Linked DNA regions of Homo sapiens: regions 2 and 3 are each linked to region 1. The links are contacts of gene promoters, found by promoter capture Hi-C in blood cells and fetal thymus (Javierre and others, 2016). All regions are on one chromosome and are shown on one strand. Each heading gives the region's core, a stretch centred on a gene start or on the middle of the fragment in contact. The rest is flanking DNA. Distances are from core to core; before and after follow the strand shown. Region 1 holds the start of ELOVL4 (ELOVL fatty acid elongase 4). Region 2 has its middle 5.2 kb from the start of TTK. Region 3 overlaps LOC124901351 (a long non-coding RNA gene).

Evidence for each region. Contacts are between HindIII fragments. The CHiCAGO score rates a contact against its expected background, and 5 or more counts as called.
Region 2: a fragment that was not itself captured here is called in contact with the fragment with the promoter of ELOVL4 in region 1 in 1 of 17 cell types (fetal thymus); the score reaches 7.6 in fetal thymus.
Region 3: a contact is called between a fragment that was not itself captured here and the fragment with the promoter of ELOVL4 in region 1, in 1 of 17 cell types (fetal thymus). The highest score is 5.4, in fetal thymus.

The regions. Positions count from the first base shown.
Region 1 is chr6:79,945,146-79,949,838 of GRCh38, forward strand. ELOVL4 (ELOVL fatty acid elongase 4) reads right to left here and starts at 2,408. Exons shown (of 6, transcript NM_022726.4): 1 at 2,035-2,408. The coding sequence starts at 2,134. LOC124901350 reads right to left here and starts at 4,488. Exons shown (of 2, transcript XM_047419628.1): 1 at 4,423-4,488; 2 at 2,242-2,866. The coding sequence starts at 2,670. The coding sequence ends at 2,242. It overlaps LOC124901351 (a long non-coding RNA gene), which reads left to right and starts at 2,660. Exons shown (of 3, transcript XR_007059656.1): 1 at 2,660-2,782. RefSeq lists a silencer at 2,468-2,517. The HindIII fragment of the contact is 8,446 bases long and covers 221-4,693 here.
Region 2 is chr6:79,997,059-80,001,751 of GRCh38, forward strand. No RefSeq gene overlaps it. Among named protein-coding and RNA genes, the nearest start is that of TTK, 5.2 kb to the right of the region's middle. The HindIII fragment of the contact is 390 bases long and covers 1,654-2,043 here.
Region 3 is chr6:79,979,360-79,984,052 of GRCh38, forward strand. LOC124901351 (a long non-coding RNA gene) reads left to right here. Exons shown (of 3, transcript XR_007059656.1): 3 at 1-687. Among named protein-coding and RNA genes, the nearest start is that of TTK, 23 kb to the right of the region's middle. The HindIII fragment of the contact is 267 bases long and covers 2,163-2,429 here.

The DNA of each region.
Region 1 (4,693 bases), core at 1,158-3,657:
CTCTCTGTTGGTTAAGAAATACCATCTGCCTACATAAGGTAGCTCATTACAGAAAGCAAGGAAGCAGTCTCAGGTTTCGTAAGTGGATAGTCAAAGCATAGGCAAATACCTTCCTTCGGCCTGCTAGTGAGAGGTCACTTGTGTTCTAAGGCTACTCTCACTTCTCAGGCTTGGCCCACAATATTATATTATTTTATATGCCCTTCGAAGCCTAGTAGCAAGCTTTCACATGCGGCAACTGCACAAAATTTCCTGTTTCATTTGTGTGTGTGTGGTTTCTTTTACACAAACATCATCAGGAAGGAATTCACCATCACAGAAAGGTGTATTCTACCTTTGCCCTCAATTTTTCCTTCTGAGACTCAAGAGATGGGAAAGCTCCGGGATAGGATAGGAATGACAGGACCGAGAACTCCTGGGTGTGGCTCTGGCTATATGGAGACTGGAGTATCTCAACAGTGTCTGACTCCTAGGTGTGCGAAGTGCAATTACCTGCTAAAGAACTTGTCTGATGTTCAGCTCTATACAATTGTGTAATGGGAAGCCCTGATGCAACGTTTAAAGAACCGAAATCACAGACGTGAAGGGAAGGGCACATCTTTCCCAGTTTTTGCAGGTACAGTGTAACATCAGTGTAATAGCGCATAGAAACAAAAAAAAAAACTGAAGAAACACTCCATTGAAAACTGCCTTTTAACCATTTTCAGCTGTAATGGCTTATTAAATAGCTTATTTCCCAGTGTCAAAGTTGAGATCTTCTGAAAAAGAACATACTTTTCTAAAGAAGTGAATGCAGTATTAATGCCAAATAATCATTTTGTCTCTCACAAAAATAATTCCAGCATACGTTTTTCCCAAAACATAAGCCCTATGTATCGGACTACATTCATGCTGTAACCACTGTCTAATTTCCTCTAACAACAATGAACACAAAAACTACAGGAGTACATTTTCATTTCGAAGTAGGGAAGGCAGAGTCATAAGATGGAACGTTAATATCCTTCACTGATAGGATGCAGTGTGATACTGCAAAAGGACCAGAAAAATTGACCTCGTAAAATCATTTCTGAAATCCTTTAAACCTTATTTTAGATTTCAAAGACTTTTAAATGCTTTAAAATCAAAAGCAGCGAAGCAAATGAAGAAATAAACAGTACAATGTAAAAATATAATATCACAGTTGGACGCTAGGAAAGCTGCATAAATCAAACAATTGACAGCCCTGCCAAATTAACTGCAACAGCTAAAGAAAAGTTTGCTGATTTAAGAACTGTATATATGTAGGCATCTGGGACAACCTCTAGGTGTTGCTGTAGAGACCCCCTTCCTAAAGACTGATTTCTTCCCCGGTGTTTTGGCCTCCCCCTCCCCCTGACTGCACTGCAGTGCGCAAAGCCATTATAGACAATCACTTCAAACATATTTGCTGTTGAAAATGCCTCGGAAACTAACATTCTTCAAGGTTCAAGGAGCCAAACAATATTATTTTACTTTTCAGTCCGAATTATACTATAGATGAAGGAGCTAGATAGAAGAAAAGATTAGCAGGGTTCTGTCAAAGCGACCAGGAGGCTGAAGAAACCTCCTGTACCTTCAGCTGCCCCTGAAGCCCTCCTTCCTCCCCAGCCCGCTCTCCATACAAAATAGGACTAAATGTTAAAAGGAATCCTGTGCACGGGGAAGAGGGAGGCGAGCTCGGGAGATGTGGGAGCACAGGGTGGGGCGGCTCCTGCGAGGAGCTCCTGGCTGCACAGGCTCCATCTGATATGTCAGCTCCCGCATCCGAGAGCTGATGAGAGATGGAGGGAGCTCAGAAGAAAACCCTGCGAGTGTCGGGGGAGGGGAGGCCTTAACATTCGGATCAGATTAACCAGTGCTCAACCGCAGTGCCCGCGCCGGCCCCTCCGCTGATCCGCAGCATCCGAAAGCCGCAGGGCGCGGGGGCCTGTGGGGCCGGGCCCGGGAGCTGCGAGACCAGGGGCCGGTGACCCCCCGCGGGGGACCGAGCGAGGATGGGGAAGTCAGCGGCTTTACCTGCGATGGACCAGGTCCAGCGGTAGAACTCTACCGTGTCGTTGAGTGCCGTGGACACTACGTTTAGGACACTACCCGGCTCCGAGTCCAGGAGCCCCATCGCGGCGATGAGCGGGCGCTGGCGGCAGGAGAAAGCGGAGACCCAGAGAGAGGGCTGACCCCGGAGGCGGTGGCGGCCGACGGGGCGAGCGGCGGCCGGGAACCCCTCTAACGGCGGCGGCCCGGCTGCGTCTTCTCCTGCTCCTCAAGGCGCCGCGGCGGCGGGGATGCGGCAGAAGGCAGGGCCAAGCGGAAGGCGTCGTCAAGGTTCCCGGGAGAAAGACGAGGAGGTGGAGGAGGCCCAGCCGCCAGCACAGTGCGCTGCACCAGTCTGCAGCCTCGCGCAGCCGCCCCTCCAATCTCCTCAGCCGGCGTCACGTGGCCGCGCGCGGGGGCGGGGGGCCGGCCGCCCCTCCTCCCTCCCTCCCTCCCTAGTATTGGGACTCGCTGGCGTAGGGATGCTGCGCTCAAGGGTGCGACGCCAACTGGGCTCGCGCAGGCGCGCGCCGTCGAGCGGGAGCGGGACACCTGGGCTCCTCCTTGGCCCCTCCCCGCACAAGTCGCCTCATTAGCCTTCCCCGCCCCTGTCCCGGGCATCGGCCCCTGCGGAGGAGTTCACCGCCTCCCCACGGGTGATTTCTTATCCGCCCCGGATACGTCCTGGGAAACAGGACACGGGAAGAATGGGTGTTCTGTGGGCAAAGATGAGGTAGGCGTGGTGCTTTGGTCCTTACCTGACACTCACCTCGATTTCACTTGTGTTCCTGTTTCTTTGACCTCCACCAGCACATGCCTGTCACCATGACAAGAGAAGTGCATGTGTTATGCCTCTGAAGAAGTGAAGGGTATTTGTCTTCCATGCTTCAGCGATGGAGAATAGACTTTGGGGTCGACCCATGAACAAATCAACATATAATTGCATGAATGCTTGCATGTGTTTTGTAGACTCTTTTACTATACATGGAATGAACAAAGCAATATAATTGTGCTAAATTAGGCCATTAGTAGTTCAGAGAAGAGGGAGAACCGAGAGGGGCTTACAGGTGAAGTCCGCTTGAACCTGAAGAAGTTGAGGTGAATCTGAAAAAGATAATCGCTCAAGAGGCAAAGGGCAATTTAGTGTAGAGAGGAAAACAAAGTAATTGTGGCTATTTTGAAAAATTGTTTAGATAAGGTATAGGAGAGCCTACCCTTGAAAAGTAAAAAAAATACAGTACTTGGAATTCATAATTTGATGGTTTCTCACATAAAACAAGATTTTTGAGAATAGTCCTTTCATCTACTTGTTTTTTAAATGTGTCACCTACTTGTTTAACCTTTTCTCCACTTGCTCATTTTGGATGCTACATTTTAAAGACCAGTGAGTCAAGTGTCTTATTGTTCCTGCCCTTTCACACTGTTAATGTGAATACTATCTTTTATCATACTGAAATGATCTATTTCCCAATTGACCTGGTTATATATTGTCTATATTTTATATTGGAAGCATCCTAGATGGTAAGAATTATTTTTGGTTGCTTGATGAGTACCTAACCCAGTGCTATAAACAGTAATTAATAAATATTTATGATGACAAAAATATAACATGTCTTTCAGAGAATAATAAGGATTATTGTGAGTGGCAGGAACTTTATTGCCGAACTAAAGCAAACACAGACTTCTTTAAATGCCCTATTCTTGAAATTAACCAAATAAAATGTTAATTTATTAATTTGTCAAATATATTTGCAAATCTAAAGTTTTCTGGATTGGAATGACAATTTCTCAAGTCTCAATCCTAAATTATGTGTAACAGATTCTAGTAGCTATATAAAAAAAAGAAATCCAGTCAAGTCTCTTCATTTAGGGAGTGGATAAATACCCATTCATTTACAGTGATGATCTAACAAAGTTCGGATTAGTTCGAGCTTCACCTAAAAATTTGATTACTATTTCTATATTGTGGAATCCTGGAGTTTTTAGGGAGAACAGATCTCTACCCATACTTCCATTCACACACGCAAAACTGCAGCATAATACTTAATACAAGGAGAAATTGTTAAAACAGCTTCAGGTATTTCCCTGGTATTTCTTCTACCGTGGAGGTCAACTTAAGTCCCTATTCACTAGGGGGTGCCAGTCACGTATAAGAAAATCATAGATGAGATAACCTTCAGCTGGGAATGGCGGTCACACGGATATCACCGTGTCCACACTCCACCTGTAAGAGTAGAATGTTTATTTACATTTATAAGCTGTCTAAACATATACCAAGAACCAGAACATAAAACTTACCCAATCTGGAACCCTATTACCTGGCATGAATAAGTGGTTTGTAAATACCAGTGACTGCCCAGAACCAAAGCCTACCTTGTTTAGTTGTGCAAAGGGAGGGAAACCCGCATGTCTGCCACCTAGAATAACAGCCATCTAACCAAAATCTTGGTAGCATCATAACAGAGTAAAAGCAAATACAAGCAACAACAGCATCTGCAAACTTTGAGAACAGAGTTCTTTCATGTGGATCAAATGCAAATAGGATACAGTTACCTACAAAACCTAAAGGAGAGGACATTTTATCATAAATTTTTTTGTATAAAATAGCAATATTTTTTTCTTTTTAGAAACAGGGTCTCACTCT
Region 2 (4,693 bases), core at 599-3,098, 51 kb after region 1:
TTATTTTTTCTTTTTCTTTCAGCATTTTAACCCTTTTCCTGTTTGCCCCAAGAATACATGCCTGTAGCTGCTGTGTTTACCCTGAGATAAATTTGCCACAAAATATCTCACTTTTATTATTTTTGCATCATTCTAGTACATTGACTTTGGAAACAAAGACATCATTCTACTTACAACATTCTGGGCCAGGTGAGGTGGCTCACACCTGTAATCCCAATACTTTGGGAGGCTAAGGCAGGCAGATCACTTGAGGTCAGGAGTTCGAGAACAGCCTAAAAATACAAAATTAGCCAGGCATGGTGGCACACACCTGTAATCCCAACTACTTGAGAGGCTGAGGCAGGAGAATTGTTTGAACCTGGGAGGCAGATATTGCAGTGAGCCGAGATCGCACCACTGCACTCCAGCTTGGGCAACAGAGAAAGACCCTGTCTCAAAAAAATAAAAAATAAATAAAATAATAACAGTATTACAATATTCTGTTTTTAGTACTGGTGTTTTGTATTTCCATTTACAAAACATAGTAATTCTCAATTGCTGAAAATGTCAAATCCTATAAAACACAGCATTTCTACGTGTGATGTTAACATCATTCTCAAACAGTTGTTGGCTGAAGATTGATTTGATGAATCCAATTTTTTCAAAACTGACAATACTGATGATTCAGACAATTCTGATGTTAGTTACGTTTAGAAATAACTCCAAGAGCAGTTTTTAGATTTTATTTTCACATTGAAAATCAGTCAGATTTGCTTCAGCCTCAAAAAGCATGTTTATGTAAAATTAAATGAGTGATGGCAGGCAACTGTAGTTTTTTTTCCTAAATGGGAAAAGGGTTAAAGATGTCACTCCATTGTTGCCCAGCTTACATTGTTTCTGGCAAGAAGTCTACTGTTCTTATGATTGTTCATCTATATCTAATTTGTACTTTTCCTCTGGTTGCTTTTAATATTTTCTCTTTATCATTAGTTTTGTCCAATGTAATAATGTGCACAGGTGTTGTTTTCATGAAGTTTTTTGTGTTTAGAATCTGTTGAACTTCTTCAATTTGTTTGTTTATGGTTTTCAACATATTTAAACAAATTTTGGCCATTTTTTCTTCAAATATATTCTTCAATTCTCCCTTCTTTCTTGTGAAAACTCCAATCACATGTACATTATGCCACATTGTTTTTCCACAACTCACTGAAGTTCTTTGTATTTTTGTTTCTTTGCTTCTCTGTGCCTTATTTTGCATAGTTTATTATTGATATGTTTTCAAGTTTAGGATATTTTGTTTTCCAGACTGTAATCTGCTATTAATCCTATCCAATATAATTTTTATTGCAGGTATTGCATTTTTCATCTCTATACATTTGTTTTTGGTCTTCTCATATATTCCATATTTCTTTTTAACATGTTTACACTTTCCTCTACTTTCTGGAACATATGGAATACAGTTATAATTACTGTTTGTCTATTAGTGGGTAATCTGTGCCACTTCTGCATCTGTTTTAATTGACTGATTTCCACCCCCACTTCCTCATTTAGATTTACATTTTCCTGCTTTAAGTGCCTAGTAATTTTTTAATTAGATGCCAGACATTGTAAATTTGACCCAGTTGGATTTTCTCATATTTCTATAAATACTGATCCTTTTAAGGTTTGCTCTTAAGCTTTTATAGACTGGGCCATTGCATGCTGTAGGGCTAATTTTGCTCCAGTTCTAAGGCAATATCATGAGTCTTCTACTTGTTGCTTTGTGAACAAAAACTATTTCTTGTCCTTTATGAGCTCTTGACATTATTCCCTTTTATTCTTTCCCCTGGTTGTTATCTTCCTCTGGTCTTGTGATAGTTTCCACATACACTTGCACTTACCAATACAGAGCTGGAGACTCAAGGACATTCTCTGCAGATTTCCAGAATTCTCTCTCTGTTCTGCTCTTTTTCTCTGGTACGCTGTCCTGTGAACTTCACCTGCCTTGGCCATTCCAGACTATGAACTCCATCTTCCTAACTTTAGAATACCAGGCAATGCCTGGGTTCTCCCTTTGTACACTGAAGCTTGGAAACTCTCACCAGTAAGTAATCTGGAGGCAACATTATGACTCACTTGTTTGTTTCACTATTCTTAAGGATCACTGTACTGTATTGCCTGATGTCTGATGCTTGAAAACCATTATTTCATTTATTTTGTATAGTTTTTGTTGTTACTGTTGTTTCAGAGAATAAATCTGAACCATGTTTCTTCATCTTGGCTAGACTCTAACTGTGTATTTGATAATTTTATTATTTTTAGAAATCTAAATGTACAGACTTACATTTATCTCTATAAATTGCATATTATCAACTTTGTCCTTTTAAAGTATCTTCTAATTTTGTCTTTTTTTAATTCATATGAAAAGTTAAGCATTATTTTTATATGTTTGTGACACAGATAAGATATGTAGTTTAGAATAAAACCACAGACAGAGTTCTGAGACCTTCTACTAGGGATCAACCTGAAGTTCTCAAACTATTAACAAGTGATCTTGGAGAAAAATGATCCAGAGTTGCAGAAATACTTCACATTAACCATATGGGAATTACTTGCTCCTTTCTTCCACAAAAGCAGTAAGAGAGCCTTTATCATTTTATTTGCCAAAGTTAAGATAGTCTGTATTTATGGCCTTCCCTTTTCTAAATATACAAACAATCAAAATCAGAACTTAGTATATTCTATATAGCCTGCTCTTAATGCATTTACATTGGCTTCTAGAGATCTTTGCTTCCAAACAGTTCGGTAATTGATCCCAGAAGGGGTCTAAAATTCTAAAATCTACATTGAGATTATAGAGATTAATAGCTTCCAAATTCTACCTTTTCCAAAAAGGTAACACTTGTCCATCCATTTCTGGCTTTCTATCATTGCTTCTACTTATTATGACTTTTCAGAGATTGCCAGCAATGTTTCTGGGATTATATTTGCACGTTTTTTTTCAATATCCTGCTTATTTTCTTCAGGATATTGTGGTATATTAACCAACTACGTGAGGCTCTCTCTATATAGCAGAGACTGAAAATGTATGGAGATATATATATATATATATATATATATTTTTTTTTTTTTTTTTTTTGAGACAGAGTTTCGCCCTTATTGCCCAGGCTGGAGTGCAATGGCGAGATCTTGGCTCACCACAACCTCTGCCTCCCAGTTTCAAGTGATTCTCCTGCCTCAGCCTTCCGTGTAGCTGGGATTACAGGCATGCACCAGCACGCCTGGCTAATTTTGTATTTTTAGTAGAGACGGGGTTTCTCCATGTTGGTCAGGCTGGTCTCGAACTCCTGACCTCAGGTGATCTGCCCCGCCTCAGCCTCCCAAAGTGCTAGGATTACAGGCATGAGCCACTGCACCCAACCTGGATACATTTAAAAAAAAATTATGGCCAGGTGTGATGGTAATCACAGACCATCACAATGCTTCCCTGCACTTTGGGAGGCCGAGGCAGGTGCATTGCTTGAGCTCAGGAGTTTGAGACCAGCCTGGGCAACATGGCAAAACCCTGTCTCTACAAAAAATACAACAATTAGTCGGGTGTTGTGGCATGAACCTGTAGTACTAGTTACTTGGGAGTCTCAGGTGGAAGGATGGCTTGAGCTCAGGAGGTAGAAGTTGCAGTGAACCAAGATCACACCACTGCACTCCAGCCTGGGTGACAAAGCCAGAGCCTATCTCTCTCTCTCACACACACACACACACACACATACATACACACACACTTCATTTGTGTCAGAGAGTTTGGATGGAATTTAAATGTCTTTCTTATATAGCCTGTCCTGTATTTATTTTTAAGATTGTCAGTCTGACTGCTATTCTTCATATTGGAGAAAAAAGAAAAATAGGAACTGAGAATCCTACTTTTCTTCTGCTGTTTGTTAGCATAGTTTATTGCCTGCATGATTAAATAATACCTGATGTCCAAGTAGTGGTCCTAACTCGTCACTGCTGTTTTCCTTTGTAGAACATAATCTAAGCTGTCATTGCTGTTTTTCTTTGTGATCTATGAGGTACGTTGGTACCTCTCCTTGGCATTATTTTCTTTTCTTTTGGGTATGGCTTGGTCCATTCTGTGATAGTTAGCTTTCCTGACAGTATTCATACAGGTCTCAACATTCTTATGGGCTCACGTCACTCCTAAATGCACTAAAATCAGCATACACTAGTAATGTTTTATCCAGAATAAACCACCATAAAGCAGCACACAACTGATTGCATGCTGTAAGAACTGGATTTATTATTGATCAGAAATTTAACTTTTGTATATGCACAAAATAAATTCATGTATAATAATTAGTTTCTAAAATCAAAGTTTGGGCCTTACTGAGCTTGTGTAACAATGACCTCAATAATTGAAAAAAAAATTCCTTGGAGGGGATTTAAATAAATAAGTAAATAAATAATGGAATAAAAAAGGCAGCTGTGCTGACAGAGAAGTCAAAGATCAGCAAAAAAGTTTCATGATGATAATGACAAAGTTAAACATTCGAAACTTTTGTTTATGTGACAAAAATGTGAAACTTACCATCTTACAATAAGTCATAATCTTATGGCTAATTTTATTGCTTTGTGAAAGGCTTGACTCTGAAAATGAACAAGTTTATTCACTGTCAGATGCAGCTGATTTAAAGCCAAATGAGAAACTGTGATGCAAGAAGTATACAAATGTGTTAAA
Region 3 (4,693 bases), core at 1,046-3,545, 34 kb after region 1:
TTGGAACAAAAGGCAGTTGCATCCATGATGGTTTGTGGATTGCACCACCACCGGAGATGGACACTGCTTCCGAGGATTAGAGTGGTAGAAGTGCTTAGGTAAGAGAAAAGACAAGTTACTTGGACATGTTAACATGTCAAGTTCTTCCTCTTACTATTATTCCTAGTTGTGTGGAAAATCCGTTTTGTTGCTTCTCTTTGTGTGTCAATCTGTGGGTCTGAAAGCCTTCAATTAAGATAGTATTTGCAATAGTTGCACATGGCAACGGAGTAATACTTGAAATATTAAAGAATTCATGTTGTGGTCCAATATGGTAACCTTAGCCACGTGTGACTTTTGGGCACCTGAAATGTGTCCAGCTGAGAAGTGTTATAATTGTAAAATATACTTTTGTGTGTTTTTCAATTTTGAAGACAGTATAAAAAAATGCAAAAAATTTTAATATATAGATTAAATAAAATATATTAAAATAAATACTAACAATATGTTAATGTTTTCTTTTAAATTTTTCTAATGTGGAAGAACTTTTAATGTAAAAAATTTAGAAGTTGTATATGTGGCTTGCACTGTATCTATTGGACAATGCTGATCTAGCTATGACATATATAAAATGTGATATTGATTCTTATATTGAAAACTAGATGAACATTTAATGCTAGAATTGTGAATAGTTTTATTTTTATGAAAATATCTAATGTTTTAAATTTTCAAAAATGAATTTTAAAATTTAACTTTAGATAATGTTGATTAAATTTTTGTATATGCATTAGTTTGTATTTTGACTTTTAGTTTAATAAATAATTTTGAATATAAAAAATGACTTTTTGAAAAAACACGAAAAATAATTCTAATTTTATATTTATTATAATTTTTGCTGAAATTTTGTAATTATAATTAATTTTGCTTTATTTGGTTTAAAGATGGGTCTCACTAGATTGCCCAGGCTGGATTACAGTGGCTATTCATAGGCACAATCATAGCAAACTTCAGCCTTGAACTCCTGCACTCAAAGGGTCCTCCTGCCTCAGCCTCCACAGTAGTTGGAACTACAGGCTGGTGGCACCTTGCCTGGTTACAATTAATTTTTAGCCCTGGCCAGGCATGGTGTCTCATCTCTGTAATCCCAGCACTTTGGGAGGCCAAGGCAGGTGGATCATCTGAAGTTAGGAGTTTGAGACCAGCTTGACCAACATGGTGAAACCCATGTCTACTGAGAAAATACAAAATTATACGGGCATAGTGGTACATGCCTGTAATCCCAGCTACTTGGGAGGCTGAAGCAGGAGAATTGCTTGAACCCTGAAGGTGGAGGTTGCAGTGAGCTGAGATCGCACCATTGCACTCCAGCCTGAGCAACAAGAGCAAAACTCCATCTCAAAAATAAATAAATAAATAAAAATTTTTAGTCCTTTAGGTTAGTACTCTCAATAGAACATAAATTGTCTGAAAGTCTTAATTAACACAACATAATAAGTGATATTTTTCTAATGAAAGTAAGAAAAATAAATGTATGAAATAAATCAATTTATAAATAACTTATAAATTATATTGTTTCATGTTATAATTCAAAAATGATTGGCTTATCAACAGAAATCCCAGCTGAACATGGGGGCTCATGAGTTTAAGACCAGTCTGGATGACATAGTGAGACCCCTCTCTCCACAAAAAATGAAAAAGCTTGGTGTGGTGGCATGTGCCTATAGTCCTAGCTACTTGGGAGGCTGAGGTGGGAAGATCACTTGAGTCCAGGAGTTCAAGGTTATAGTGAGTCACTGCACTCCAGCCGAGGTGAAAGAACAAGACCTTGTCTCAAAAAAAAAAAAAAAAAAAAAATCCCAAAAATAGAGTAATAATTAAATTCAAATAACTTTTCTTTTTTGCCAACTATCAATAACATGAAACTGTAGTGTCAAACATGTATTTCAATTTTGTTATTACAGATGTACCATTATTGCACAGAAGGAGAGAACATATTTAATATTACAGCTCGTTTACATGACATTTAAATATTTAGACAAATAGTATATGGACCTCTATTTGCACTATTGCCCTGGATCTCACAAATGTTAGGATGGATCTTTTCTGATCATAAGCGGGGCCCATGGTAACCAGAAAGTTTTCAGTGAAACAAGATGTTCTCCATGGAATTGCATCACAGCTGAAGCTTCCATGGCTTTTGAGGATCCCTCAGAGCTGACAGTGTTGGTATGGCCTCTCAAGGTCTGTGTGAAACAAAATACAGTCTCTCTCCTAACCCATCTGTATTTTTACTCCTAAGCCTGGTAGGAAAGGGATGGACCTAGGAAATAGGTGGGAAAGAGAATGAACCTGACAACATCCTTGCATATATGTCTCCTTACTTCTGCCCTTTCCTGGGTGAATTAAATAGCCTGGTTGAAAATTGCTGAGACAGATTTAAAGAAGCTCAAAGCTTCTGCAATATATGCAATATAATAGCTGTGGTGCCAGCTTTTGGTAGAAACTGGGTCAAAGGGTGGAGTAGGTAGAAGCGATGCTCTTCAAAAGCTACATCTGCCAACGGAACTACGATCGAAGAGACTTTTGGAGAGTACAAAGGAAAGTTGTAAGCTGAGTTGTTTATTAGGTTGATTCTCATTATTTTAATAATACATGAAAAGGGTCAACCCTAAAATGTATCAATCCAATATGGATAAATACTGTGAATTATACCTATCTATGGACAAGCTTTACTCACCTCTGGAAATTTATGTCTATTTTCAATGACAGAAACTGTAGAGCTGTGAATAACCATTTGATAAGAAATAAAAATGCACTGGGAAGCAAAAGTCCAGAATTCTATTTCTAGTGTTGGTATATCCAAGCCATATACCCCCAGGGCAAATCACTAAACTGGTCTAGGCTTCAATCTCCTACCTGCACACTGCTGAAAGAAAAAATTGTGCTGCCTATCTCATAGACTGATATGAGGATCAAATGGGACCATTTAAGTGAAAGCACTTTGAAAATTGTAAAGTGGTTTACAAATATAAAACATTGTCATTTTTTGTTTCACTCTGTGATATTTCCTTCAGGAAGTTAGGACTGATTACTATTGTTACTATTACCATTATATATTGATATGAGTTTATTTGATGTGATTATATAATAAGATATATATTTTTTAAATGACTATAATTTTGAATTCTAATTCACCAACTATCAAATAGCAAAACTTTGTTAATGTATTGTCCCAGAGATCCTTGTTTTTTAAAACCTCATCTATTTTACTCACTAATATAGGAATGCTGTTTTCCCTTGAATTCCTATTACTCTTTCCCTCACCTTTGATTTTTAAAATTCAAATCGTTTATTTTCTACAAGATACTTATGTTGTCAAAATAAATATTACCATTTTATCATTGTTTGCTTTTCTTCTGTCTCTCCATCCTGCACTCATCTACAGTGATGATGGAGAAGGAGCTTCTTAGTTTTTCTCAGCCTGCTTGATTTTAGAGGAAAGGCACCCTCGTTGCCCCCTTCTTTGCCCCAGAGGCACCTGTGGGTTCTGACAGGACTAGTCCAGTTGTTGGACACTCCCTGGGCAGCCTTTCCCTATCAGATAAAGCAGGGAGTGAGCCTCTGACAGGTACATCTGTCACTATCCTGTGTGTCCATGGCGCAAGTGGAACTCTAATCAGACTAATGTTGTGCAAAGACTTTGTGTGGGCGACGTCTATCCTCCACCCCAGATGAATGACTTACTGCATCTGTGTGCTCAAAGCAAATGAAACTCTTACATACCTTTGAAATAAAAGAGAACAATATGAAAGTATTAGGACATTGGTCCTATCACAAAAGATGCACATTTCATTATGTGAAAAGGAAACTTCAGGCCTCAACGTATTAGATAAAATAAGGTATTTTTTATCGCTAACTCAGGAAAGATTTTGAACCTTTTTGTATTCAGGTGGCAAGTAATTCAGGCCCCTCATAGAAGATACCATTAAAATATAATTTAAAATAGGAAAGAGAAACACATACATATTAGAAAAGGCTTTGACCATTCCTCGCCTTCTATTTAATCTGCAGAAATTATTTTAGAATCTCAGAATGCTATTTAGCTTTATTATCACAGCTCTATGTTAGTAAAGTTAATTGCGTGTGTGTTTTAGTTGTTATAAATGTTCTGTAGAGATTCATGTTAATTACATTTTGAGAAATATTATTTGCAAACAGGTGGCCGGTTACTTTATATTTCCTTTCTGCGGAGTCAAAGGGTGGCATGACGACTAAAGGAGCTGGCTTACTTCTGGGGGCACTCAGAAGGCCACACCTTCAGCACAGGTACTATGAGCCTTCTGATGATTCCCGTCACTGAACGTGGACCAAAGCAGCAGAGCCCCTGAAAATGTCCTGGCATTTCAGCAGAAAACAGTGTGAGCAAATGATTAATGACTGGGGTCTTCCTGAGTCTTAGTGATACATGAGGTGCAAGGTACAGCCTTGGGCTGGTGGAGCCTCAATTACTACTAAATTTCTCAATAGCCTATAGGAACAGGGCATGGAGTTGGATTTCAAGTGATTTACAGATTATAAACAAATATGATGGTTCTTGAACTTTTGAATTTGTGAACTGAGGTTCTGCTATTTTTATGTTATGGCATTCAACATACAAATTTACAAACTGAACAAGGCTTAGAGGTAATTAATTATTAACTCTTAGCTTGAACAA